Linked DNA regions of Homo sapiens: all the other regions are linked to region 5. The links are contacts of gene promoters, found by promoter capture Hi-C in blood cells and fetal thymus (Javierre and others, 2016). All regions are on one chromosome and are shown on one strand. Each heading gives the region's core, a stretch centred on a gene start or on the middle of the fragment in contact. The rest is flanking DNA. Distances are from core to core; before and after follow the strand shown. Region 1 overlaps SRPRB (SRP receptor subunit beta). Region 2 overlaps NEK11 (NIMA related kinase 11). Region 3 holds the start of TOPBP1 (DNA topoisomerase II binding protein 1). Region 4 overlaps CDV3 (CDV3 homolog). Region 5 holds the start of DNAJC13 (DnaJ heat shock protein family (Hsp40) member C13). Region 6 holds the start of C3orf36 (chromosome 3 putative open reading frame 36). Region 7 overlaps PIK3R4 (phosphoinositide-3-kinase regulatory subunit 4).

Evidence for each region. Contacts are between HindIII fragments. The CHiCAGO score rates a contact against its expected background, and 5 or more counts as called.
Region 1: a contact is called between a fragment that was not itself captured here and the fragment with the promoter of DNAJC13 in region 5, in 1 of 17 cell types (naive CD4 T cells). The highest score is 5.0, in naive CD4 T cells.
Region 2: a fragment that was not itself captured here is called in contact with the fragment with the promoter of DNAJC13 in region 5 in 4 of 17 cell types (naive CD8 T cells, naive CD4 T cells, total CD4 T cells and 1 more); the score reaches 8.8 in naive CD8 T cells.
Region 3: a fragment that was not itself captured here is called in contact with the fragment with the promoter of DNAJC13 in region 5 in 8 of 17 cell types (fetal thymus, total CD8 T cells, naive CD4 T cells and 5 more); the score reaches 10.8 in fetal thymus.
Region 4: a fragment that was not itself captured here is called in contact with the fragment with the promoter of DNAJC13 in region 5 in 3 of 17 cell types (fetal thymus, naive CD4 T cells and total CD8 T cells); the score reaches 6.0 in fetal thymus.
Region 6: the fragment with the promoter of C3orf36 here is called in contact with the fragment with the promoter of DNAJC13 in region 5 in 3 of 17 cell types (fetal thymus, total B cells and activated CD4 T cells); the score reaches 11.7 in fetal thymus.
Region 7: a fragment that was not itself captured here is called in contact with the fragment with the promoter of DNAJC13 in region 5 in 1 of 17 cell types (non-activated CD4 T cells); the score reaches 6.8 in non-activated CD4 T cells.

The regions. Positions count from the first base shown.
Region 1 is chr3:133,815,858-133,819,912 of GRCh38, reverse strand. SRPRB (SRP receptor subunit beta) reads right to left here. Exons shown (of 7, transcript NM_001379313.1): 6 at 2,981-3,035; 7 at 1-360. The coding sequence ends at 147. Among named protein-coding and RNA genes, the nearest start is that of SRPRB, 12 kb to the right of the region's middle. The HindIII fragment of the contact is 818 bases long and covers 2,377-3,194 here.
Region 2 is chr3:131,038,387-131,042,236 of GRCh38, reverse strand. The region is part of intron 3 of NEK11 (NIMA related kinase 11); the gene reads right to left. Among named protein-coding and RNA genes, the nearest start is that of NEK11, 13 kb to the right of the region's middle. The HindIII fragment of the contact is 1,428 bases long and covers 873-2,300 here.
Region 3 is chr3:133,660,522-133,664,342 of GRCh38, reverse strand. It overlaps TOPBP1 (DNA topoisomerase II binding protein 1), which reads left to right and starts at 2,402. Exons shown (of 28, transcript NM_007027.4): 1 at 2,402-2,574; 2 at 3,209-3,299. The coding sequence starts at 3,216. It overlaps LOC124909487, which reads right to left and starts at 3,117. Exons shown (of 3, transcript XM_047449438.1): 1 at 2,997-3,117; 2 at 2,310-2,830; 3 at 1,005-1,444. The coding sequence starts at 3,117. The coding sequence ends at 1,295. It also overlaps a transcript of TF not described here. RefSeq lists an enhancer at 1,976-2,045 and a silencer at 2,446-2,615. The HindIII fragment of the contact is 1,121 bases long and covers 1,155-2,275 here.
Region 4 is chr3:133,581,498-133,585,330 of GRCh38, reverse strand. CDV3 (CDV3 homolog) reads right to left here. Exons shown (of 5, transcript NM_017548.5): 3 at 1,181-1,329. Among named protein-coding and RNA genes, the nearest start is that of CDV3, 9.7 kb to the right of the region's middle. The HindIII fragment of the contact is 1,847 bases long and covers 734-2,580 here.
Region 5 is chr3:132,414,724-132,418,994 of GRCh38, reverse strand. It overlaps DNAJC13 (DnaJ heat shock protein family (Hsp40) member C13), which reads right to left and starts at 1,493. Exons shown (of 56, transcript NM_015268.4): 1 at 1,235-1,493. RefSeq lists enhancers at 629-1,164, 1,104-1,253 and silencers at 1,284-1,423, 1,704-1,803. The HindIII fragment of the contact is 2,245 bases long and covers 1-1,876 here.
Region 6 is chr3:133,927,532-133,931,314 of GRCh38, reverse strand. C3orf36 (chromosome 3 putative open reading frame 36) reads left to right here and starts at 1,503. Exons shown (of 1, transcript NR_161373.1): 1 at 1,503-3,170. RefSeq lists a silencer at 3,345-3,783. The HindIII fragment of the contact is 5,965 bases long and covers 1-3,783 here.
Region 7 is chr3:130,738,022-130,741,848 of GRCh38, reverse strand. The region is part of intron 2 of PIK3R4 (phosphoinositide-3-kinase regulatory subunit 4); the gene reads left to right. Among named protein-coding and RNA genes, the nearest start is that of PIK3R4, 6.9 kb to the left of the region's middle. The HindIII fragment of the contact is 4,950 bases long and covers 82-3,827 here.

The sequences.
Region 1 (4,055 bases), core at 1,536-4,035, 1.4 Mb before region 5:
GCTGGTTTCAACAGTACTTTGTTTCCAGAACAAAGAAATGTTTCTAACCACATCTTGTACCCCTTCCTCATCAACTCCAGACTACCACAGACCTTTTTCCAAAACTGTGTGTCACACATCCAGGTCTTGTGCTTTAGAGCTGCCTCTCAGGCAATTTTAGCCAGCCATTTCTCCAAGTCCTGGATGTCAGCAGAGCCCACGTCCCCTCTTCCACCCTTGGCACTGCACTCCAGGAACTCCACTTTGAGGGGCAACTGTGAGAATTCAAACTCTTTGCCTTTCTTCCCCAGCTGAGCAGGGGCAGTGCTGGAACTGTCCAGTGTGCTGGGGGCAGCAGAACGGGTAACTCGTAAGGTGTTGCTGTGGGGCAAAAGGAAAGAAGTCAGGAGGCAAAATTTTTATACAGCAATTAAATCATATTAGTTTCTAAACATTTCAGCACTCATTTAAAACTTAACTATAGAATTGCCAATTATGCTATTAAGATTGTTGAATAATCCTTTGCATTTATAAGTCCCTCTCTTGGACAGAGAGGTGAGGTAGGTGGGGCGGGCTGGGGGGGTCAGACCTCACAGGGCTAGAAGGCAGGTCAGCAGTAGACCAGGTCACACCAACTTTCTTTCAGCCCAAGGCCCCCTTCTAAGAGGATCTACTGAATGAAGCCGTCTAAAAATATATTTTTAAAATACATGCTTTAAGTGTTATAAAAACATAAGTTTCTGAAAGTTAAGTGTGGGTAGATAGGGTATGTATTTTTATCTTGAGTCTATTTGGATATGGAGTTTAGAAATCCACCAACTCCAGATTCTCATATCTAACTAGGGCAGAATTACTATTATCCAACCTCTTTAACCACCAAAACCTTCCCAATGTAAGTCCCCTTACTGCCACCTGCTGGCCCTAATAAAGGGTGCATAAGCAACACTCATTTGTCGGCCTCCCCTTCCCCTTTCTGCTATCCAGAAGCAGAGGAATACATGCTGCCAATCTTCTTTCTTACAAAATAAAGCATTTCTTGTTCTGTAAAGTTGCTTCAAAATTAGTGAAGAATCCACAGGCAAAACTAAGCAATACCTTGTTTAGGAAGGAACACACACACACACACACACACACACACACACACACACTGTAAAAGTATTTTTAAAAAACAATACAAAACTGGATATTGCTGACCTCTTGAGGGAAAAGCTTTTGGGGAGAAACAGGGGCCTTCTAGGCATGGTGGTGAGTACATAGGTATTCATTTTAATATTTTTTAAGCTTAATGCATGTGACATATATACTATTATAAGTAAGATATTTTACAATAAAAATTTTTTAAGGAAAAAAGTAAAACATGTATTCAGCTTTTGCCACAAGGCCATGTAAATATAATATACCGTGTTATTGAGAGACTATGAAATGCCTCTAAGCTAACAGGGCCTAATTCTCATAAATCTGAGATTAAAATTAGTCAGATTCCGAATTTTAACTGATGTTAACCTTTACAATTTGTCAACATTTTGTTTCACTGCCTTTTAAGAAAGCATTGCCTTTCAATGCTTTTAAAAAAGGATTGGCTTCTGTATTGTTTTTCTCTAAGTCTATAGAGTGAAAAGCAAACAGCCTATGGAAAACATGTGTTTTAACCACGGGAGACTTGGACTGTACTGTTAAAAATAACCCAAGACTGATTCACAAATAACATTATGACAGTTTTGGCTTCCCCAAAACAATTCCCAACAATTTCAAGAGAATTTTTAGAAAAACCCAACCATCCAATTGTTCCAATGTCCTTATTAACCTAATGGCAGCAACAGATACAATCCAAGAGAGTGAGCATCAAGAGCACAGGAGGACAGGGTGATAAACTCGCAGCTCCAGACGGGAAAGGAACCACTGAAAATGGCATAGGCAGGGCTGGCAAAATTGTTCTGCAAAGAGCCAGAAATTAAATATTTTGTCGCATATTTTTCTTCTGTTTTTTACCTGCCCTTTAAAAATGTCGATTTACTCTTGGCTTGCAGGCCCAGGCAGGAGTTTGCCAATGCCCGAAGCTGACTAGATTCTACCAGACTCTAAGCTCCTGAGTACAGGAACACATTTCCTCCTACAGCTGCTCCCAACTGCAGTCTTGGCATCCACTAGATGCACTACAGGTGCTTCTTAAATGAATAAGGGAGTCAGTAAGTCATAGTGGGGAGAAAAGTTTCTAAAAGTTGAATTTATACAGTTTTTCCTCATCAGATCCTTTTCAAGGCCTTACACAAAAGCAATAAGAAAACATAACTTGCTTTACTATAAATGTTGATCATTTCTTCTACACCAGCTTTTGGCTAGCTCTTACAAATTGGCATAACGCAGAAGACATGCTAGATGCCTTAAAATTCAAAAGCTTATAGCTCAATTTACAAACCTTGAAACACTCAAAGCAGGATATATAATATTGCCAAGTATTTTAACAATCTAAGAAGCTATAATGTAGTATCAAAGACTTGTAGTCTTCCTCAGTGTTCTGTTCTTATTCTGTCAACAATAATTTCCAAAGTGGCTTTTAAATGTTTTAATTTCTTTTTTCCTGATTCTCAGTTTTTATTTTTTATTATTTACATGCATCCTTAAATACCACTTCACAGGCATTATTGAGTGGTGAACAAACACTTCCACTCACTGAAATAACACCGTTCTCAAGTTGGCATGTAAACTTTTTTAGCTTCTAAAACCTTTCAACTATAAATGATTTAGTAACAATGGTAAAATAAATTAAGTTTATGGTTTCAAAAAAATCTTCTTTCCATGAAATTTTAAAATATCTATAAGCACCCTAGTAAGTTTTTGTGATTCCATTATTTTGTAAATTATTTAACAAATATTTATCACACTAATCTTCAGTCTATAATTGTGATAATCACATAAAACCAAACAAAAGAAACATGAATATGCTGCTTACAGTCTAAGTGTTAAGATATATAATTAACCAACAGGCCTCTTTCACACTTACAGTTCTTTCTCCAGCTGCTGTTGAATTAACTTTGCTGATTTTGCCATTGCAATATCTGTAAAGAAATAAAGACACTGTTGTAGTTTAAACGAGAATGAGTTTTTTCCCCAAGACTTCTTACACAGAAGGAAAATTCCTATTTAAACCAGTAAGTTTTTCTCTTTTTTTAAAAAAAGACCTTTTATCACTAGTTCCTTCTCTATCAAAGTAAGCTTTATACTTGCACTAGGGGCTTTCCCAAGATAATGCTTATAAACATATTATGCTGGTGACCCTAAAACTGACTTTAGCTTTCCCTAAAGTTCTCCACACCTTATAGACCTTTCAATTCAAAACATATAAGTTTACTCAGTTTAACAGAAAGAAAACCTACCAGTGCTGTGATTATGAGAAGTGCCTTCACATGCCAAAAGACAGTGCCCTATCTGTCATTTTAAAGTAAACTTAGCATGTTTCCAATTGATCCTAAGACGGTATGTTTAAAGCATTAAGTGTACTAAAGGTAAGAAACAAGCTCTGGTTTGGCACAAAGCCCATGGCAAATAAACAATAACTCCCTTCCTTATATTCAATCAGGGAAATAAAGAGGTCAGGTAATGACGCTAATTGCATTCCCAATAAGGCATTATCAATATTATCTGGTCACTTCTGAGAAATGCCTTGAACTCTTCATAGAATCAGAATTTCAGATCTGGAAGAGACCTGAAGAGATCCACTAGTCTGTCTTATTGTACAGGTAACGGAACTGAAGCCCAGTTTTATTGGGGATTACTAGAAAAGTTTTCAATGGTTATCAGGTTAAAAGAAAACAACTTCAGCAAACTTCCCTTGATAAAATGTGCTGTACAGTAAACTTGTTTGAAAGCAGAAACTCCACCCTGCAAAACTGTGCATCTGATATCACATATTGTCAATCTGATGAACTTAACTTGGTAAAGTAAAATAATTTATAATCAGAAAAAACACTGTATCAAAGAAAAATCAGTTAGCAGTCACTTGGTTATCATTCCTTGGTCTTCTGGTTAGAAGACTGGTGAAAAGGTAGGAGTAGAAATAAATTTTAAGATTAAAAATC
Region 2 (3,850 bases), core at 337-2,836, 1.4 Mb after region 5:
CACTGGGATACAGGGAAAAAAAAAACAAAAAACAAAAACCTGCAGCTAGCTGGGTGTCTGCCCAAACGGTTGCCCAGTTTTGTGCTTGAAACCCAGGGCGCTTGTGGTGTAGGCCCCTGATGGAATCTCCTGGTCTGTGAAGACTGTGGGAAAGGTATAGTGGCTGAGCTGGAATGCACTGTTCCTCATGGCACAGTCCCTCACAGCTTCCCTTCGCTAGGGGAGGGAGCTCCCCAACCCCTTGCACTTCCGGGGTGAGGTGACGCCCCACCCTCCTTCTGCTCGCCCTCCGTGGGCTGTACCCACATCTAACCAGTCCCAATGAGATGAACCAGGTACCTCAGTTGGAAATGCAGAAATCACCCACCTTCTGCATTGATCTCGCTGGGAGCTGCAGACCAGAGCTGTTCTTATTCGGCCATCTTGCCCTGGAATCGCCTTTTGAATTTTTATAAAGTAGAAGTCTCCACTGAGTACTTCCAAGTACTCAATACTGAGTTCATGTCCAAGTATAGTTATGAAATATTGAGCCCTTGCCTCTTCATCCATCAGAACGGGATATTATTACCAGCTGAACACAACTTTTGCTGCTGAAACTAGTGTTGAACTAAAAAACTGTCCAATTAAAAAATGCATACACATATACACACCTTAAACACACACATACACACACACATATATATACGTGAGTATATATTTACGTATGTATACACATACACACACACACACAGAGTTTTTATGGTTATGTGAGCTAGCAAAATAATGCCAAAATAAGCTTTATCTGTGGGAAATTATCTACTGTTGTCAGTTTTCAAAACCTTTTGAATATGTACTTACTCCCTGCAAGTTCAATAGTCAACTGCTTTAAAGCTTACTTAAAATGCAATTTCAGATATGTGTCAGGTCCAATTCATATGGAACACCCAAATGTTTCATTTTTTAAGTAATGTTAAACTGCCTTGCAACTCACATCTGTCATTAATCCTTCCTGTAATTTTGATTACTAAAGCAATTCTAAAAATAATAGAAACTACTCATTAGAGCTCAATAATCTTTGCACCAAAATGTCTTTGAAATAGCAATATAAATTAAAAGCAGCTGATCACCAAATAGCAAATCCAATATTGCAAAAAGTGGATTGGCCGATATTATCCCCAAACTCACAGTGTATGCATTTGTATGAGGCTTATGAGATGAAAGACATAAGCAAAGAAAGAAGAGAGGAAATGAAGGGCTGTGGGGCCACAAATCTTCCTTGAATCTCCCCTGAAGGAAAGCAGCCATAGCTAAGTGATTAGGTTTTAAAGGGTTTCTCAAAATTCAAACTAATAGGGAAGTGGAAACATCAACCAAACTTTAATTAAAATGCTAAGTGACTGCTGCATGTGGGAGAGACTGAGAAAATTGACACCCAAACACATTCTAATCAGAAATTCAATGTTCCAAATTTTCCACTCTTAGAAAGTTGGAAACCTAGTATGTAGGACAATATTATCAACTACATTTTGATCTTCCTTCTTCACTTGCCCAATAAAGGTACCAAAAACAAAGCCTATGATTTTTCTCTGAGCTAAAAACAATAAAATTGGCTGGTATGAACCCAAGATTAAAAAGCAGCACTCAGCTGAAAGTATCAAGTTTCATAATGATTATCATTAGTAACTGCAAATTCAGCCAGTTTAACAATCTTAAGGGTTTTCATATATCATGGTACAGGGTTTTTGCTTTTTCTAAACACAATTGTTAAGGTACAATTGACATAATACACTGCACATATTTTAAGTGTATAATTTGCCAAATTTTGATATATGTATATACCCATGAAACATGACACCATCTCTACAATCATGATAATGAGCATATCCATCACCCCCACACATTTCATCAGGCTTAGTGTTTGCTTTCTTAATAACTAAAACTTTGGGTGTTTTTTTTTTCATATAACTACCCAAATAAATACAGCACTACTGTACTAATAAGTATGTTCTATAGCATGTCAAAGGTTCATAATTATTCATTCGTGAGTAGCAGGGACTAGGGCTTATAAGAGTATCTGAGAAATAAAAAGTGTTCTCGTTAAACTACGGAATGGAAATTCAATTTCACAGTATTTTAAAGCAATAAAGGTCACACAATATTAACTGCTTATTTTTGATACTACATAACATTATTTATACAATGCACAATTAGTGGAAGTAAACTACTTTTAGAACTCTGGTGCCAACAATGTTTATTTCCCACATAGATGTACAAATTACTCTTAATTAAATTTACAAATTACTCTTTCCAAAAACCAAGCTTAGGAATAACTGACCAAGAAACTATTACTAACATAAGGGTTGCTTGTCTCTCATGTTGACTTGTAAGTCATGCACATCACTCAAAGTGCACTATTTAAACATGGATGTTATGGCAACTAAGCTTTTTTCCCCAGGAAAATCAGTTGAAGAGTAATAAATTGATCCAGAAACTAATTTTAACTTGAGAATTTTCCCCCTTCTCATTTCTTTTAAATTTAAGTCATATACATATCTCATTTCAAGTTACTTAAGGGTGGATGATATCACAACTAAAATTTTCAGTTCAAAATAGGTATAAAGTTGGGTGCTGGCCAAAATTGCCTATATTACTCTTGAGAGACATTCATGCGTCAAAAAGGAACCAGATCGGTTTAGAAGGAAAGGACTGAGTAAAACAGATGCCTCCCTCAACTGATCCAGTTAAAGTAAGCAATGGTAAAAGGGAACTGCCTGCTGTCTGCCAGGAAGAGAGCTGGGCTGCCGGATGCACCAAAAGTTGTTGGAGGAAATATTCTCCCCAAAAGGCTGCTTGTGTAGAAACAACAGCAAGAAGGGCTAGTTACAGATTATACTTGAGGGTGTTGTGCTTGTTTTGGGGTCAGGAAATTAAAGTTAGCTGACTGAATATTCTAATATTCATCAACCATTAAGAATTCTGGATTTGGTTATTGAGGTTCCTCTGGACTCTATTAAAAATCAGCTCACTTTTTATTATAAAACATCTCGATGAAAAAAGCCCTTTTAGGGGAAGGAAAAAAAACCTACAAGGTAGACTACACCCATCAAATTTTGCTCTTGCATTTTTTGCACTCATCCTAAAATACTTTATTTATTGAATAAATGAGATACAATAACTTAATAGGCTTAACACAAAAATCTTGCACTTTAAAAATTTTAGGAAGTCAACAATGACAATGTAAAGGGATCAGCATATCCAATTACATTTATTATTACTATTATTTACTAGAATAGCTTAGATATTCCCCTATCTCATACATTTAAATGAAGAATGCTATTCCATATTTCATGGGATGTCATTCAGTGTTAGCCAAACCATTAGCTTCCCTACTCACAAATCCACCAGAACAACACATTGAAAGAACAGAGTGGAATGATAAATTTAAATAAGTCTGAAAATCTAACAAGTATACTATTGTAATTTGAATATACTTTTACTGCTGACACTAATACGGCTGTAATATTTTAAATACATCACTTTTGTTTTCTTTCAAACAACAGTAATGTAAGAAAAAAGAATTATTTTTAAGAAGAATTTTTGAGTATTGTTGCCTTCTTCCTAACTGTTGTCTTCTTCCTAAATGTTTCTTGGCAATTCAGTCTTAAAAGGAGGCTTTTTTGGCCCCCTGCCTAAGCCAAAAAGAAACTGAGGGTTTCCCTGCAGCCTACTCATTCTAATATTTTATTAGTCATTTCTGATCTGTAAATATTAAAAACCAGATAGAAAGCACACGGATTCTTTTATGCTAACACATGCAGCAAAGCGGCCTTAGGAAAGTCATTTATCTCAGAATATTGACTTCATTACCATG
Region 3 (3,821 bases), core at 466-2,965, 1.2 Mb before region 5:
CAAAAAAAAGAAAAAAAAAGTACATGGGAGTATGTGCACAGGTTATATATAAGGTACTTGAGCATCTTCAGATTTTGTTATCTGTAGGGGGCCTTGGAATCAATCCTCCGTGGATACTAACCATTTCACCCTTTCCTGAAGGACTGCTGTTCAAGCAAACTTTAATGTGTACCAAAATCACCTGAAGGGCACAGATTGCTAGCCCTACCCCAAGTGCTCCTGACTTAATAAGTCTGAAGTGGAGCCCAAGAATTTTCATTCCCCCAAAATTCCCAGGAGATGCCGATGCTGCTGGTCCAGACACTACACATCAGAACCACTGCTTTATCCATTTTCCAGGAGTAGATACTAGAGACAGACCCTCTCTGCTTATCTGGAGACACAAGATGGGAGAACTTGCCCCCTAGTGGTGAACTCTTACTCTAAAGACAGGTCACTCCTCTGGTATCAAGTTCCGGCTGGGTAAAAGCTAAAGGGTGCATTTTCTTCATCTTCATTAGCAGCATCTATGAATCTCCTTCTCTTGTGAGGTCTCTACTTGGCCCAGAAATGCCAGGAATGGGCTCCCTCCCCGGTGTGGAACTTCACACAGAGATGGGCAGACAGCACGTGCCCAGGAGCAGTGTGGTGTGTCAGGAAAGGCACGGGCAAGTGACACAGTCCCTGAACTTCACTTTCCCCATCTCCATAACATGAGACAATGATACCCATCTATTATAGGGTTGCTGAAAAGAGTAAACGGGAATAGTGTGAGCAGGAGTCCCATGTTAACTGTAAAGTGCCCTAGAAATATTAATTGTTATTACAGATTCAGGTCAGATTTGCACCTTAACAATTAACTGTGGTTTCTTTTTTTTCCCACCTCTAGTGATTTTTGTTTTTTTGCTTTTAAGGCTTTCTTCACCCTTCCCCCAGCAATAGGCCTTTACCTTTGAGCCCCAGTGTTAATTGATTCTGACTCATTTCTGGTAAAAAAAAAAAAAAAAAAAAATTAATGATATTTATTAAAGCACAGTAAGACAGATTTTATTCCGGACCATCAGGATAGGTATAGCAACCATGGCAATGGGATTCTGAATTAGGAGAGAGAGAGTGGGCTCAACTCTAAATACACCATGGGCAAGTGGGAATTTATAGCCAAGGAACAAAAAGCTTGGGGTCACTGGATAAAAAATTACTAAGAAGGAACTTCAGGAGTAAAGGGGTTTCTTGCTGAAAATAGGTCAAGGTGATCAGACATCACCTTGGATGGTAGAGGATGAGGAACCTGATCAGATATTGAGGGTAGAGGGTTCTAACTGGATTTTCCAAGGAAATGCACAGATAAACCTACGAGAAGGTTGAGGAGTCTGACTAAAGTTTGGCCAAGCAAAGAATCTTTGTCACCTTCCATCGGTGTATTCAAAAACTTAAGACTCAAGCTGCTCATTACTATCTTTAGGCTCTAAAAAGAAAAGAAAAACAAAAACAATCAAGGGACATGGCATTATACTTTTACATTAGTAAATCCAAAGTCATTTTCTCAATCTCAGCAGTGAATAATAAAATGATCCTCATTAGTATAGTGGCTAGATTTTATAAAATAAGAAAAAATTTTTTTAAAAAAGAATAAAATGAAAAGAAGCAACAACGAATCAGTTTTCCGCTGGTTATCACTAAGGTTTGCAGGCCCATCTTATCCCCTCTCCCTTTGCTCTCTGCCATCTGAATCTTAGGTTCAGTCCCAGAATCTCCCCAGTACTGAGGCAGATGCAGAGAAAGAGAACGGCGATGTCCACTGAAGGGGAGGAGGAGGGGAGACCATTGAAGATCTTGACAAAGATCCCTTTGCATTAGCTGTGTAATAAGTCATCCTTTCTTCCCTTGCCATCTTGTGGCTGTGTTAGGCGGTGATTCTATTCCTGCTGTGTTGGAGGGAAACCACCCAGTCCGTAGTCAGAAGACCTGGATGCAGTATTAATTCTACCACCTACTAGCCGTGTGCCCTTGAACCCATCATTTAACTTCCTCCGTTTTTACATCTACAAAATGGAACTACCACTATTTGCCTCACGGAATTGTTTTGGATAATACCTTTTCCCGTGCATGCCTGGTATAAGACAGGTGTAAAATAAATATCTATTGAGGAAATCCTTTCTTTCCCTGGCTTTTTTAACAGTAAAGGAGTATTCCTGGCCTGTGGTCCTACCTCTTGAACCGACGGCGCTGGGCCTACTCGCAGCGGAGACTAGGCCCGCCCAGCAAAGCCCTAAACCCAAAGGGTCCGGCCCAAGCTTTCCCTGAAGCCCCACCGCCCACAGACTGCTCACCTCCACGTTTGACATTTCCGCTCTTCTGCTGCAGCTGCCGATGGCGTCACTTCCACCGGAAAAGGCAAGCGCGGCCGCGCGGTTGGCGCGAAAGTCGGTTCCCGTTCTGGGCAATTTCCGGGTTCTCCAGCGTTTGCTTTGGGGTAGGGGCGGCGCCGAGTCGGGGGAGGGGGCTGTGCGCCGGGCTGGCGCCCGACCCCAGCCACCGCCCTGCGGCCAGCGCGTCCCCCGACTCGCCGCCCGGAGACCCCGAGGCTCCAACGAGGTAAGTGAGGCGCGGAGTGGGGACACAGCTCCTCCCCAGCCCCAACTGGGGTTCGCGATGCCTTCTGTGGCCTTCAGGACCCTCTTTTCCTGTCCTGGTAACTGGCCCTGGAGCCGGCGGGTGGGCCTTTGACGCCGAGAGGACGTGGCTTCCGTGATCCCAGAGCCAGGCCTTTTCCTGGAGATGGGAACCGGAGCATCTAGCCTTATGCAGGGCCAAGACCATGCTAACTGGCTTCCATGTTTATATTTAAAATCTGTTTACTGAGGGATGAACGTACCTCGCAGGCCGTGGGTATCCGCAGGGACAGATACACTCTGTGTATCCTTAAAACAAGTGCAATTGAATGTCCATTGGCCTAAAGGGCTTAGAGCCTTCATAGCAGGGCCTTCCTCAGTGTATTCAATTCGGGTTAATTTTGCTGTCTGATTTGCAAGGATTGGTGTTGTCATCTTTTACCTTGGCTTTGTCCAAGTTCCAGGATTTCTTAGAAATGCCGTTGACGAATTCACGGGCAGAGCCAGAATGTCTGTCTTTAGGCATTCTTGTCTGCACAGAAAAATAGGTAGGTTAAACATGCAACTTTTTATCTAATGTGGTTTTGTTCTTGTTAATGGTTCCTTTATTTTGACAGTTCAGAAATGTCCAGAAATGACAAAGAACCGTTTTTTGTGAAGTTTTTAAAGTCTTCAGACAATTCCAAATGTTTTTTTAAAGCTCTCGAGGTAAGAGTTGAAAACATCTTAATACCGTGAATTCATTTTCTTGTTTTTAAGTGTTTTTGATTTGTTGGGCTTTATGTCTTAGAAGTAGATATTTCACTTTCATAATAATTTTATAGTCTACATTAATACAGATATATCATTATCACATATTTTTGAATTGATCTAAGTACATCATTATGTATTTCGGGGGGCTGGAAGTCTATTATCACATTGCTGTTTAATATGGCTGACCTACAGTTCTTGGAAATTAAGTTGCTTTCATTTGTCTCCTAGCCAGAGTGGTCCTTTGCGTGCTGTAGAAATTTGAGTCAGTTGTGTACTGGTCATACTTGAAAATTTTTTGGTTAATTGTTAAAAATTATGTTTTATTATGTACAGTATAATAATTGGATGATAGTAGGGGTGATGTAGATCCTTGCTTCTCACAGAACCCAGCAGTATCAGCATGGCCTGGAAGTTTCTTCGAAATGCAGAATCTTGGCCTCCAACCCAGACTTAGAATCTGCATTTCTAACAAGATCT
Region 4 (3,833 bases), core at 408-2,907, 1.2 Mb before region 5:
TGGTGACTCACACCTGCAATCCCAGCACTTTGGGAAGCTAAGGTGGGAGGATTGCTTGAACCCAGGAGTTGAAGACTAGCCTGGGCAACATAGTTAAGATCTCATCTCTACAATAAAATAAACAGGTGGCATGCCCCGGTAGTCTACTTGGAAGGCTGGGGTGGGAGGATCACTTGAGCCCAAGCAGTTGAGGGGCTGCAATGAGCCATGATTGCATGACTGCTCTCCAGCCTGGGCCAGAGTGAAACCCTGTCTCTAAAAAATATAAAAATAAAAATTTAACATAGAGTAGTTATCTGTGATTTCTGCATAACAAGATTTGGAGTGATATGTTATTCTTTATAACATTCTAAATAAAATAATGAGTATACACTTCTTTAAAGTAGTGCTCTTAAACTTTCATTATTGCCCTAAGGAGACCTTTCAGACATCTGTTTCCTAACTGCCCCCCACTCCATGAAATTTTAATACTGCGATATACTATACATCTGTTTATGCATTCTAGTCTTTTCGTGGGCCACAAATGACTGTTAAGGTATAAGATTCCTTCATTCCATAAGAAGCAACTTTTACCACCTTGAGAATGATAAAATTGGCCCTGCTGAGAATTCATGCTTCAAAGAACAGGAAAGTTAAATAGGGAATGAAAAAGACAAAGCACAAGTGAAAGACAAGGGCCCCTTGTCTTTCTGTCTTTACTCAGCTGTCAAAAATATTTTAAATGATAAAAGCTTTAGGAATTTTCTCTCTCATGAAAACTTTTGGAGTTAAACCCAACCCTAGGGTAGTTACCACTAAAAATCCTAAATGAAGCTGACCTTGGATTCTAGTAAATTAAAGTCTTTTCCTTACCTTTTCCTCCATTAGCAAGTAGTTAATATTTAACGAGAATATTAGAAGAAATGCTCAATTCCAATAAATGAAACTGGAATCGACTAGTCTATATCTATATAAATTTTACAGCAACATACAGGACAAAAGCATGTCTTTTAACTTCCAGATTCCTTTTATTTAGGATTTTAAAGTCTTTAACAAGATATATACACATCCCACTCTACCAGGAATGGAAAGGAGCCTCTCCTCCTCACCCTACCACAATCATGCACTTAGTTGAAAGTGGACCATATATAAAATCATATATAAATTAGACATCTTTCTGAAACTGAAATAGTAAAATTACCAATTACTGGAGCAGGAGGTGCTTGTACTGGAGCTGTTTTATTCCAGGGACCTGAAGATTTTTCCATACCTCCACCACCACCTCCACCTTCTTCCCAGTTATCACCTGGATCTTGTCTCTTTTCATTATCGTCTTCTTCCTTTTCACTGCTGGAAAAGCAAAGATGTAAATTCATTAAGGAATCACCAAGAAAATTTTCAGTCCAAATCGTTAGTTTTATCCATGATTATCTGTACGACCCTGAAGAAGTCAATCTCTTTCGAGACTGAACGTCTTATTTAAAAAGTGAGGCCAGGTACAGTGGCTCACACCTGTAATCCCAGGACTTTGGGAGGCCAAGATGGGTGCACCACCTGAGGTCAGGTGTTCAAGACCAGGCTGGGCAACATGGCGAAACCCATCTGTACTAAAAATACAAAAATGAGCCAGGCATGGGGGCACACACCTACAATGCCAGCTACTGGGGAAGCTGAGGCAGGAGAATCCCTTGAACCCGGAAGGCAGAGGCTGCAGTGAGCTGAGATCGTGCCACTGCACTCCCTCCTGGGCGACAGAGCGTGACTGTCTCAAAAAAATAAAAATAAAAAAAACCTGATGTGCCTCTGTGACAATATGCCTGATCATTTATAGCAGCCCCACATAAGAGCAAGACCCCAGTTACCACCTCAAGCGACTAAGGGAGGGAAGAGAGGATGATACAACCTGAAATGCAGAGAAGAAGGTGAGCTGAAGGATTAAGAGCACAATTACAAAATTTTCCTTGCACCAAAGTGTACAAACAGGCATTTAAGGTAAGCATATTTTTAGTGAGCAAATGAAGAGTTTTGAAAGTTGTATAATTTTATTTGCCAATCCTTTCGCACATAAAATACTCTCAGAATTAGAATTCACATTCCAGCAGATGAAAACAAGTCTGTGTCCAGTGTTTACAGAGGATAGAATTAGCCCCTAACACCAGACATGTATTTATCACCTGTTTAAAAAAAATATATAAGATCTCAGTCTTTGGCTTTCCAGATGTTATAAATGGAAAAGATACCCTCAGTGGTAACATACCATCTTAAGACTGCTTGCAGTATTTTCTCAATGCTAATTAATTTATTCTTGAATTGACTTGAGTCATAATCTATTTCTCCAAGGCATCTTTGATTATTTCTCTTTTTGCTGGATTACTTTTTATTATTTTGTGTAACTTTACATGTCCTAAATTACCAAGTGTATTTATCTTTTGTCTCTTGACAAAAGGGATACTGACAACAGGGATATTAAAGCACAATAATGGCTAAATCGAACGTCCTTTTTGCAACTCTTCACCTCGAAGATACACCTGGCAGAAACTACCAACATTTTCATAAAATTATTTTTCATGACAATGGTGGCTTTTCCTAGGTCTTCAAGCTTCTCAACTCCTTCACCATTCTACCTTTTCCCCACCTTCCTATAAAAAAAAGGCTGGTTCCCAAAACTCTGTCCCTTGCCTTCTACTCATCACCCTGACTCTCTTAACTGTATAACCTTAGGAACATCACAGCCTCTCTTGGCTTCTGCAAAAGGATATCTAAGGATGCTTTCCTTCCATTTCTATTAAAACAAGACACATGCTGGCTATAAGACAAAGTTCTTGACTAGCTTGACAGTCTCCTTTAAAGATACTTAGGAAAAAAGTAAGTGGCAAAATGCCATTCAAAAATAATGGCACTGGCCAGGCGCAGTGGCTCACAACTGTAATCCCAGCACTTTGGGAGCTGAGGCAGGCCGATGACCTGAGGTCAGGAGTTGGAGACCAGCCTGGCCAACATGGCAAAACCCCATCTCCACTAAAAACACAAAAATTAGCCAGGTGTGGTGACACATGCCGGTTAGCTACTTGGGAGGCTGAGGCAGGAGAATCAGGTGAACCTGGGAGGCAGAGGTTGTAGTGGGCCAAGACTGTGCCACTGCACTCCAGCCTGGGTGACAGAGCGAGACTCCGTGTCAAAAATAAAAAATAAAAAATAATGGCAGCATTGTATGAATTACCTACCAACCAGAAGTGACTGCAGAATTTGGAGGCTAGAGTGACAATGAGGAAGAGTGGAAAGAAGAACAGATTTATCTCGTCTACATTTACAGCAAGATTTTACTTACAACTTTATCTGAGAGGAAAAAGGATAGAGAATATGGCAATTCATCCCTAAGAGGTCTGAGAAAGAAAAAAATGCAATTTAAAATAAAAATATAGCCAAGCCATCTCTCAGTTTTCCTTTTCGTTAACATGTAAGAGAATTCTATGCAGCCATTTAAAATGTAAACCCTATGCTGACATGGAGGTAGTATTCATGTCATATAAACCAAAATTCACTAAAACAACATCTATATACCTAATATAAATACAAAAACATCTACAACAATTTTAAAAAGTTTTATAGAGTAGCTCTGGGTGCTAGAATGTATGACTTTATCTTCTTCATGCAGCAAGCAATTAGGAGCAGATTCTAAAGTCAGGCTTCCTGGTTCAAATCCAGGCTCTGCCACTTACCAGCCAGGAAACTTTGAACATGGCACTTCATTTCTTTATACCTCAATTTCCTCTTATGTAAAATGGAGGTGACAACCCCATAATAATCAGCACTATTTACTGATTATCCCTAAATAGAAGAGACTACAGATAATT
Region 5 (4,271 bases), core at 244-2,743:
ATAAAGTACTTTCCAAAAATCAAAGAACTGTGTTCTGGATACCGAATTTCTGACAAGTGGTTTCTATAAATTTATTTTTTTAAGGCAAATTCTGTTTCATACTCCCATAAACTCAAAGTACTGGTAATATATTATAAAACCTTATCACTGTAATTTTCCCTGCAGGCAGTAGTTTCAAACCTAGAAACCTATCAAGTCCATAAACTGAGAAAGAAAATATAGTAAGAAAGAATTACTGGGGGCAGGTTCTGAACTTCTACTTTTTTCCCCAAGACACTGTATTACAAAAGGCTCAACATAACTGTACACTATAAAGCCCTTCATAGAGGACGCAACAGCATCAGGTACAGAACCTCCTTTTTGAGGGAAATCAGAATAACGTAAAAGGGAAAAGCAGAGGGAAAATGAGAAATAATTACTTTGGGAGACCACCGCCACATTAGGGTGAAATCTTTACTTTTTTCCCCCCTCTAAGCAACGGACACAGGAAACAATCTTAAGACAAACGTGGTTAACGGAACACGCTACAAAAGGAGAAAATTTAAGGGAAGGCACTCTTAAACATAGTTAAGTATCAAGTGATTAACAGCCACTTCACTGAGCGTCTAAGTCCTACTTTACCCACTCCAAAGGCCACATTCAAAGATAAAATCACAGCAGCGGAGGAAAGGCCACGTGAATAAGCTGCCTTGCAGGAAGGAAAAGCCTTAGGGGAGAAAATGATTTTAGAAAAAGTACTGGAGAACAGACGACGCGGATGCTCATTTCCTAACAAAACGAAACAAAGCAAAGAAAGTCAGTCTGCAGGACTTGTTCGGAAGGAGGGTCGCTGACCCAAGGAAACAAGAGTTGCCGGCATCCAGCAGGAAGGGTGCTCAGACTAGGAGACTGGAAGGGAATCCCGAGGGCGGAACCCACAAGGGAATGAAGAGCCTGTGGGGTAAGGATATGTTAAGGCGAGTGGAGGAGCGTACTAGGTATAAAACAAGCAAAAAAAAGGGGTGGGGCTGGACAGGGCAGCGCCCTGAGCTAATGTCACTCAAAGCCGGGGGGGCGTCCAACGAAAGGAACCAGACCAGCAGCCTGGGGGAAGGGTAATCTGCTTCCTTAGCAGCTGCAGGCTGCAGCAGCCAAGACCACCCCGTTTTCCCTGCCCTGAGCCCCACAAAGTCCCCACGGCGTGGGAAGGGAGTAAGGCAGAGCCCCAGAGCCCAGTGCCCGGAGTCGGCTTTACCTTCGCGGGAGGCTGGAGAGGCTCCAGCCCTAGCTCCTCCCGCCGCCGGCTCAGCTTCCAGAGTGGGATGAGGCGCCCTCCGGCCTCCTCACCCTCACCACTTCCCCTTTCCCCCGCCGGGGCCCTGCAGCTCCGCTGCCGCGGGTTCCTGGTGCCGCCGCGGCGCTGCCTCCCCGCCCCCTCCGCCTCCTCCCTCTGCCTCTCAGAGTTTCACTCTGGAGGCCGCCATCTTCGCTCAGGCTTTGAGCGAGCGCGCTCTAATACGCCTGCGTCGCCACCGCCCAGGCTGTCACGAGACCCAGTCAGCTGATTTCAACTCTTCCGTCTTCTGCCCCGCCCTCCCCGTCCTCCCCGTCCCGATCGTTCTTTCCCTGAAATTCTGCTTTCCTCCGGCCAGCCCCCAGCAGCTACACATGCGCAGAGTAACGACACCGGCCGTGGGATTTGGATTCCACGCAGCGCGTCAGGGGGCTGGCGCCTCGGTGGGTGCTGAAAAGGACACGCCCCTGGGCGCGCGCGGGTGCCCATGACCACGCCCCTCCGGCGGGTGCCCATGACCACGCCCCTCCGGCGTGTGCCTTAGGGCCGCGCCCCTCCGCTTATGTCCTGCGGAGAGTAGGGTCGCAACCCGGTACTTAAGCTTTAAGTCCGAGGAAATCTTGTTTTAAATCACCTCTTTTTAGCTCTTGCCGTCAAGTGCCATGGAGCATCTGCGAGGCAGTCTGAAGCCTCAGCCTATCTCCTGGTTTGGCTGGATTGGGAGCCAGCAGGTTCATTTACTATTGAGACGTCCTGAACGACAGCAGAGCAGGGTTTAAGTTATGGATGCTCTGGAAGGTCTCAGAGACCAAATTCTCAGAGACGCCTAAGGCATTTGCAGGTGGGAATGCTGGAAAGATAGTTCTGGTAGCCCCATTTATTGTGTCCGGATCAAGTGTTTAGAAGTTTACTTAAAGCTGCTTAATCTTCAACTCTCTGAGATACGAATCATCCTCGTTTTGCAGATAAGTTGAGGCCCAGCCTCAGAGTAGTGGATTTCATGTTTGCACCCAAGTAATTTGAACCCAGAACCTGTGCCCTCTAGATAACCATCTTCCTGAACCTCACCTGAGAGGGAAGTCAGGGCAGTGAAAAGAGGGGATATTGGGACTAAAGGATTCGGCTAGAAATTATGTGTTATCTGTGGGCAATGGTTTAAATAAGAAAGGTCAATGTCCACTCCCAGATCTGAGCCGTAAAGACCACAGTTTAAAAATTAGTGATTAAAAAAAAAATAGTGATTCTGCTGCAGACTTCAGAGTAGAGGCAGTGTAGGGTGACCTGCATGGATACATTATTGTATAAGGGTTAAAGGTCTCTGATAAGGAGTTGAATACTCATTCTTCATGGCAGTCCTGAAATTGTGATTTCTTGGCGTCCCCTTCAGCAAGTTGGCTCATTTTATAGACAGCGATTGCAGGATGAAAAAATGTGGAAAAATGGTTTTTACAGACTTTACCTCTTGATTCTATTAACCCTTTGCCCTACCTTAGGGCGGAAAAAGACTATTTGTGTTTATCCTTAGACTTTTCTGTAATGCAGCAGTAAGATAAGGTGCATGTAAGGGAAGGTACTAGGAATAGCTGGGTGTGGGAAGACAGAACCCGAAATAGAGTAGGAAGGGAGGAGGAGGAAAAAGAAACAGGAGGGCTGTGTTAAGGGGCCTTATTGGCTTATCCCATGGAAACAGAAACGTGTTTATGTGGTTACAAAGCCTTCCAGTAATCCCAAAAGTAAATGTGGGGTATATTATTTCGATTTTAGAGAAGCAGCAGACCCAGAGAGTCCAGGAGACTTGCTAAAGGTGACCTAACTCCTAAAGGTTGAGCCAAGATTAAGACACAGGGCCTGCCTGTAACATCAAGGCCAGTGAACTGTTCAACCTCCACACTGCCTCTCTGTTCAATATTTGAGACCAATAAAATCAATTCTCGTGTTGAGAGGAGCCTTAGGCATCATGAATTGTCCCCATCCTCTGTAGTGCAAAATTGCCTCACAAGACATCTTTTTCCATTGCATTTTTATAAGCCATTTTCCTTGTATTCAGCCAACTTGCACTCTCTTCTATGAGTAGTTATTTTGTCTTTGTTTCTTGCTCTTTTCTTCTTGTATGTGACATTCATTTAAGCACTTATCAGTACAGCTTATCACCCTTTCCCACTCCCTCTCCCGTGCATATCCTTCTAACTACCCCTGCTACAGATACTCATTTTAAGAAACCATATTCAAAGTACTTTCAACCATTGTTCACAAGATGTAGTTTCAAGCCTTTTCACAACCACTGGTTGCTTTTAATTGGATCCATACAATTGGATCCTTCTTAAAATGCCACAACAAAATACAAGAGTCAGGGAGAGTAGGACTTGTCTCTTCTTTCCCTATTAGGTTAAATCAGTTGGATCCTTTCCCCACCCAACTCTTTTTTAAGAGTGACAAATGCACACTTCTTTTTCTGGATTTGTCTTTTTATTCATAATTAAAGTTTGCACTAGCGTTTCTGACACTTTCATAGTGCAGATGTATCAAATTTACAATCTAAATTATGTGATGTACACTTAAAATATTTCACAGCTTTTTAAAAAATACATTTCACAGCCTTTTAGGCACCAATAGCCTTTATCAGTCTCCAAAGTTAGCATACAAGGCTGGAGTGATCTAAGACTTTAGAGAGCCCACAAGAATGTCAAACACTTGCTTATCTAATTCCCATTGCTGCTAAATTGACCTTCCTAATTATATCAATGCCCAGATCCAAAGTAAATCCTTAAGAACTCATACCACTCAACAATGCTTGAACTATGTTTTCAGTACAGTAGCCACTAGCCCTATGTGGCTACTGAACACAGAATAAAAATTAAAATTGTTACAAAAAAATGTAAAATGTTGCATTAGCAATTTTTATATTGATTACACGTGTTAAAAGAAAAAAATATTTAGGCCGGGCACGGTGGCTCACGCCTGTAGTCCCAGCACTTTGGGAGGCTGAGGCGGGTGGATC
Region 6 (3,783 bases), core at 254-2,753, 1.5 Mb before region 5:
CCTGGAAACCCTACAAAGCCGAGACCCCAGGGTTAGGCCCACCTCCCTGTGCACACTCGCGGCTATGCCCTCTCCCGGCCCCAGTCCTAGGAAGCCCACTCCTCTGCACCACTCCCTCTCCCTACAGAATCCCGCTCCTCAAGGGCTGAACAAAAAAGCCGGAAAAGGAAGAGTGTGCAGGAACCTTTTTTATTCAATCCTTCTTTTACCCTTCTTGGAAAAAGCGCAAATACAGTGATAACTAAATACCGTATCTCTATCAATTATCCTTTGGCCCAAAGCCCTTTGGGGTGATCCTCCATGATGGATGCCCCATGTAAAGGTGAGGAATCTGATCCCGAGGAAGCAACCATTGTGGCCAATTTCACATAGATAATAGCTGGCCAGGTCTAGACTCAAACCAGGCTGTCCACTTCTCTCTGGTCCAGCCCAATTGCCCCAGCTGAGTCATTCTGAAGAGTCAGCATGGACTAAAATGGTGGGGAGGCCCCTCTTTTCCCACTGATGTTCACTGGCCCATGGGAGGGAAGTGGGGGAATCTCTTGAGGGCCATTAAGGTGGGTAACAAAGGCAAAAGAACCAGGTAACAGTTCATTTACTTACCTTCTATTCAACTAGCAACAACATCACAACTATTCATTAAACAGGGCCAATTTATCCCTATAGCACCATGAGTTAAAGAGAGTTGTGGAGAAAAGAGACAAAGAGGGAAGGGTTTTGAGAAGAAAAGGCCCTGAGAATCCTGCACACAGACCTTCAAGGGAACAGCTCCATCTGGTGACTGCTTAGCAGATTCTTGCTCAAGAAACAAAGCCATATTGTGATTTTATTCAACCACTCTCAAAGATGGAGAGATACAGTTAAGCTGGAGGCTGAAGCCAGTCAGTATCAAATTGATACTAAAATATTATATTGCAGCAAATCCAGAAGAAATACATCCTATCTTTCGCAACCACAGGAAGTAAATACCTGGAAGAAAGGTCCATCTCCTGCCAGTAGCACCAGACACCAGATTCATTATAACCTTTCATCAGAGATTAAATATGGAAACAGATCCTGGAAAAGCCCTTGGCAAATCATAAATGAGAGGAAGTTTTTCTCCATGGCATACCCTGGCCATTCCTCCACTCTCCAGCCACATCATGTCTCCAGCCCTGCTACAACTTGACAGCAATAATAATAACTAAAATGTGCACAGATCTTTACAGTTTACCAAGCCATTAACCCATTTAAAACACTTCTTTAATCAGTAAATCAGTGGGGAAAGGCTTGGCTATGCTGTGGTAACAAACCTCTCGAATCTTAGTCACTTGACACAACAAAAGATGGTATCTCGCTCACAGAACCTGTGGTGATCTGGGTGACTCTCAGGTCAGTGGCTCAGTAGTGCCCCTCTGCCTGCTCAGGGCCTGGAGGATTGGCCTGAGAGCCCCCCCAACCAGTGTCTCAGTAACTCAGACTGTTTGGAACCTGAGGTACCTCCATTTCATTATAAGCTGCCATGATGGATGGGGCAGGGGAAGAAAGTCCTGGAAGATCCCGCACTGCTAAGCAATGCTTTGTCCCAAAGTAACGCTCTTCACTCTGCTCCCAGCCTAGCTGCCGCAAGAGCGGAACAGAATATTCTGTGTGCTCAGGAGAAGAAAAGAGCAGATATGGTTGAGCACTAAAACCCTCTACTGTGGGTAGTGAACCTAGGTGGACACAGTTGCTCACCGGGACACTTAAACCAGCTTTGCGGGGCTGTCGGGGTTGGGAAGCACAGTCTGGAAAGATTTCCCAATGGAGGAAGCACCAATTGTGGGTCCCTGAAGCTGAGGGGATGATGCCCAGGCAAGGCCGAGGCAGTCTGCAGAGGGCTGGGGAGGTGGGAAAGACGATTTTGCTCAGAGGAGGCAGAGATGGGGTGGTGGCTGAGAGAGATGCAGGGTCAAGGAAAGGATGGCTTCAGAGAGGAGAGATTTGCTGGGGCAAAAGGCCACAGGATGGGGAGGCTGCGGGGTCCAAGAGGACAGCTGATGGAGCGAGACCCTGCAGGCAAGGAGGAGATGGGGTGACTCATGGCAGAATCGCACCAGAGTTCCCACAGCCCTGTGCGGCCACTATGACTAGTCCCATCCTGTACATGGAGAAAACGAGGCTCCTTCCAGTTGTCCCTCACGCCTCCCTTGATTTATGTACTACCTGATGTGTATAAGGACAGGTGGTGACAAACACATGGTCCCTACCCTTCAAGGACATATAATCCAGAGCTAAGACAAGACCTTAACACAGGGCAAAGTACTATGCTCTGAGTTCATTTGATGAGCGATGGGAGAACGGGCTTGATCCTAGCCATGCGGGAGAGACTGGAATTCAAGAGAGTCAAATGTGCTGGGAAAGACTTTCTGGGCAAAAGGAATAAGCAAAGGTGTGCAAAGGTAAGGAAGCAGGAAACCTTTGCACATCTTGAGAACTCGCCGGCCAGAGGCCTGTGAAGGAGCGCAGTGGTCAGGCAGGAGAGGCAGTCGGATGCAGGCTGAGACCATCCTGGAGGGTCTTGAGGCTGGCTTACCCCAGGCTGTGAGTAGTGGGCTCAGCCTAGTCCCGGCTCCTGGGTTAGTGCTCACGTGTCTCTCTGCCCCCTCAGGGCCTGGAGGAATGGCCTTAGAGCCCCCACCAACCACGCTCAGGAAGGCATTCCTAGCTCAGAGTACCCTCCTGGAGTCTACACTGGAAGGGGCTCCTGAGTGGGCCGCGCCACACCCCGAGGAGCAGAGGCGCAGTCCTCCCGCGTGCTCCCAGCACACTCCACCCCTACCCAGCACACCCACGGGGCCCCCACCTTGCTCACCTGGGGGGAACCACCCACTCTGCGCCCTCTCAGGGAGAGGTGGTGGCCGCTGCTCTATCCCCTCCCTCTCTTCCTCTTCCACCTTCTCTCTCTTCTCATCTGGGTGCTGGAACCCAAGGGTGAAACTGAGAGTCAGAAAGTCTCAGTCTCAAGGCAGAGCGGGGCAACTAATTTAAAACGGCTTCTACTCCGGCCCCCAGTGTGACTAATCTCCTTCTCTTCGCTCCACAGGTCTATAAATGGGCCACAGTAGGCACCCCTTTTTAAATCTGTAAAATCCCCAAATCCATTAAAAGTGACTTCAGAGGTCCCAGATAGGGACCAACATTTGTTTAAACCTTTTCCTCATTACATCTCATGACCGCCAGCTTACAAAAGAGAGACTGGGGGTTCTGGATGAGACGTATGCAATCCCTGAGTCCACCTTGGAAAGGACAGAGGCAGGTGTCACACCGTTCCTCTTTGACCCGAATCGCTTGAATCCCAGAGTTTCAACAGCTCAGGTGGGTTGAAGGCTCAGAATGTACCAGACATCCGAAGCGCTTTACATACATTTGCTCCTTGAATCTTCACGACAGCCCTGTGAGATGCAATAATCATGCCATTCCACAGACGAGGAAACGGGCCCAGGGGACTGCGGTCTCGGCTCCTTTCCTCTGGCTTTCTCAGAAAAGGCGCGGAGGCCCCCGCCGGGTGGGCGAGGCGGGGTGGGCGGCCCCTTGCGCCCTGGAGTCGCATTCCGCCACCAGGGGGCGCCGCCCCTCCGCCGCGGCCCGGGGAAGCCACCCGCGGAGGCGCCACGCCCAGCCCGCCCACGGGACGCCCCCGCGGCCCCACAGCCAGCCGGGCGGGACTCCACCACCCGGCTCAGCGCGCCTCCGATAGCCCGCTTCCCCGCCGGGGCGCCCTCGGGCCTGCGGGGCTCCCCGCGCCCACCGCACGCACGCACG
Region 7 (3,827 bases), core at 1,307-3,806, 1.7 Mb after region 5:
TTCATTCATTTTGACATGCATTTGAGCATATTATGTGCAAGCCATTGTTACGTAGGTGCCAGGAATACAGTTGACTAAGCTTTTGCCATTATGGAGCTTTCATTCTAGTGGGGAGAGAGATAGAATAAACAAGTAAATAAGAAAGTTAATTTTGGTTAGTGATGTGTTATAGCCAAGCAGAATGATATTGAAAAGGCTGGTAGGGCACTACTTTAAGATAAAATGGTCAGGGAAGGCCTCTCTGATGAAGGTAACATTTGAGCTGAGATTTGAATGATACAGACTCAGTGATGATAGTGACGATTTAAACAAGTTGTTCCACAGGGAAATACCACCCAATAACATCTTTCAGAATAAAATCGTAAAAGTTTTGAGAAAATAAATATGAATTCACTGCTGCATTAGTTTGTTAGGGATGCCATAACAAAATACCATAGAGATGGTGGCTGAAACAAGATTTATTTTCTCTCAGTTCTGGGGGCTGGAAGTCCAAGATCAAGCTAACAGGGTTGGTTTCTTCTGAGACCTCTTTCCTTGGCTTGCAGATAGCCATCTTCTGGCTGTGTCCTCATGGGTTTTTCTCTGTGAATGAGCATACATGGTGTCCTTTCTTATAAGCACGCCAGTCATATTGGATTAAGGGCACACCCTTATTACCTCTTTAACCCTAATTAACTCCTTAAAGGCTCTGCCTACAAATACACTTAGATTCTAAGGTATGGAGATTAAACATATGAACTTGCAGGAGGGGAGGCAGGGGGCACTTGACACACAATTCAGTCAATAAAACCTCCATTTAGTTATAAATAGTCATATGTCACTGTGTTTTTTTCTGACTTTATTTGGAAATACTGTAATTTCAAACTTGAAAGCCTTAAAAACTTACAGACTTTTAAACTTGCAAAAATAAAAATAGAACAAAGGAACACCCATATACACTTTACCCAGATTCACCTATTGTTAACATTTTGCCCTGGTTGCTGTATCATTGGTATCGTTTTCTTCTTCCTCACGCCCCATTTTTTCCCTAACCTTATGAAATAAGTTACATATATTATGGCCCTTTACCCTGAAACATTTCAGTGTGTATTTTTTACTTTTTATTTATTTTTATTTTTTGAGACAGAGTCTTGCTCTGTCACCCAGGCTGGAGTGCAGTGGCGCGATCTTGGCTCATTGCAACTTCCACCTCCTGGGTATCATGCTGCTGCCTCCTGAGTAGCTGGGATTGCAGGCATGTGCCACCATGCCTGGCTAATTTTTTTGTATTTTTAGTAGAGACAGGGTTTCTCCATGTTGGCCAGGCTGGTCTTAAACTTCTGGCCTCAAGTGATCCGCGCCCCCTTGGCCTCCCTGAGTGCTGGGATTACAGGTATGAGCCACTGTGCCCGGCCTTCAGTGTTTTCTAAGATGAGGTATAGTCTGTTACAAAACACAATATAGTTAATGGCTGCAGTAATTTTAACATTGATACAGTAATTACACTTTTTATTCTAATTTTGTATTTGACCCAATAATGTCTCTTATAGCATTTTGCCTGTTTCAGGACAGGACCTTGTTTAGGGTTCAGGTATTACATTTAGTTGTCATATCTCTTTAGCCTCCTTTAATATTTCTACAGCCTTTTTTTCTTTTGTTATTATCACATTGCCATTTTTTGAAGAATGCCTCCCCCCACTTAATTTTTCAAAATCATTTTTATACATTTTAGTTTGAAATTATTGTAGAATCAAAGGAAGTTGCAAGAATAGTGATGTATCCTTCACCCAGCTTCCCCCAATGATGACCTTTTATGACTGTTGTACCATATCAGAATCAGGAGTTGCCATAGGTGCATTACTGTTAACTAGAGTATAGCCCTTACTCAGTTTTCACCAGCTTTTACATGCATTCTCTATGTCACCCACTCCTTTGTTTTTTGATAGGATGTTTCTCATTTTGAGTTTGTCTAATGTTTCCTCATGATAAGATTTATGTTATAACTTAGTAGGAATACTGCATAGATGGTGATGGATTTTCACAGGGTCACATCTGTAAACAAATGATGGTTGTTTGTGATGTTAATTTTAATCATCTGGTCAAAGTCTTCCCAAATTGTCTCCCCTCTATAGTTTTTTATTTTTTTTCAATCCCTTGCAACTAATAACCTGTGGGAAGAGTTTTAAGATGTGCAAATATGCTTGGTGTGGTGGCTCAAACTTGTAATCCCAGCACTTTGGGAGGCTGAGGTGGGCAGATTCTTGAGCCTGGGAGTTCAAGACCAGCCTGGACAATATGGTGAAACCCTGTCTCTACAAAAAATGTAAAAAATTAGTTGGGCGTGGTGGTGTACACCTGTAGTCCCAGCTACCCGGGAAGCTGAGATGGGAGGATCACCTGAGCCCAGGAGGTCCAGGCTACAGTGAACTGTGATCACACCACTGCACTCCAGGCTGGGTGACAGAGTGAGACCTTGTATCAAAAAACAAACAAAAGGCCAGCGCGGTCGCTCACGCCTGTAATCCCAGCACTTTGGGAGGCCAAGATGGGTGGATCACGAGGTCAGGAGATCGAGACCATCTTGGCTAACACGGTGAAACCCCGTCTCTACTAAAAATACAAAAAATTAGCTGGGCGCGGTGGCAGGCGCCTGTAGTCCCAGCTACTCGGGAGGCTGAGGCAGGAGAATGGCGTGAACCAGGGAGGCGGAGCTTGCAGTGAGCTGAGATAGCGCCACTGCAGTCCGGCCTGGGTGAAAGAGTGAGACTCCGTCTCAAAAAAACAAAACAAAACAAAAAAACAAACAAAAAAAGGTGTGCTAATATCCTGCCCATTACCACGGTTTATCGCTTGACATTTGGCATCCATTGATGATTCTTGCCTGATTGAATTTTTGTTATGATGGTTGCAAAAATGATTTTTCCACTCAAATACGTCCTCCACATTCAACAGTAGGACCTCAGCATTCTGCTGTACTCAAGGATCCTCTGTTTTGCCCCATTTATTTATTTATTTATTATTGGTATAGACTAATTCTTAATTTTTTTCAGTTGTATATATTTATTACCTTGTTAATTATATTGGTGCACCAGTTGTCTCAGATTTGGCCAGTGGGAGAAGGAGCCTTCTCAGGCTGATTCCTGTGTCCTTGTGACAGTCCTCATCTTTTTTTTTTTTTTTAAGCATTTCTTTACTTTTTGATATAAGATACCGTACTTACCCTGCCTTAGTGCTCAAACCAGCCATTAAGGAAGCCTAATTCTTTTAGTGTGTAGTGAATTATATTAGAAGCCTCTATCTAGTGCTCGTTGCCATTAGATTGTCTTTGACACTTTGCTCTTACAGCTGACAAAGCCAGGCAATATATGTAGTGTGTGTGTGTTGTACTCTGCTTTTGTTGGGTGGAGTGTTCTGTCGATATCTGTTAGATCCAGTTGGTGTTTTTCCCTACTGTTTTTTTCGCCTCAGCACCAACTTCTAGATTATATTTTATGTGCTTATGTTCCTCAACTTACAACGGAGTTACATCCCAGTAAACTGATTAGAAGTTGAAAATATCATAAATAGAAAATGCATTTAATACACCTAACTTATTGAACTTCATAGCTTACCCTACCTTAAACTTGCTCAGAAACTTACTTACATTAGCTGGTTAATTTTAATTGTATTTTTCGGGTCCTCTGTTTCCTTGTTGCTTATGGTGTTTTTAATAGCTGTTTTTCGAAGTCCTTCATTCTAAAATGTGACACTATACAGAGAGAAATTAACAAATTTATTGAGTGTTTATTATGTGTTAGGAACTTAGTTGCTGGAGATTTTTCAATGAATAGAGAAAAATAGAAAAATCC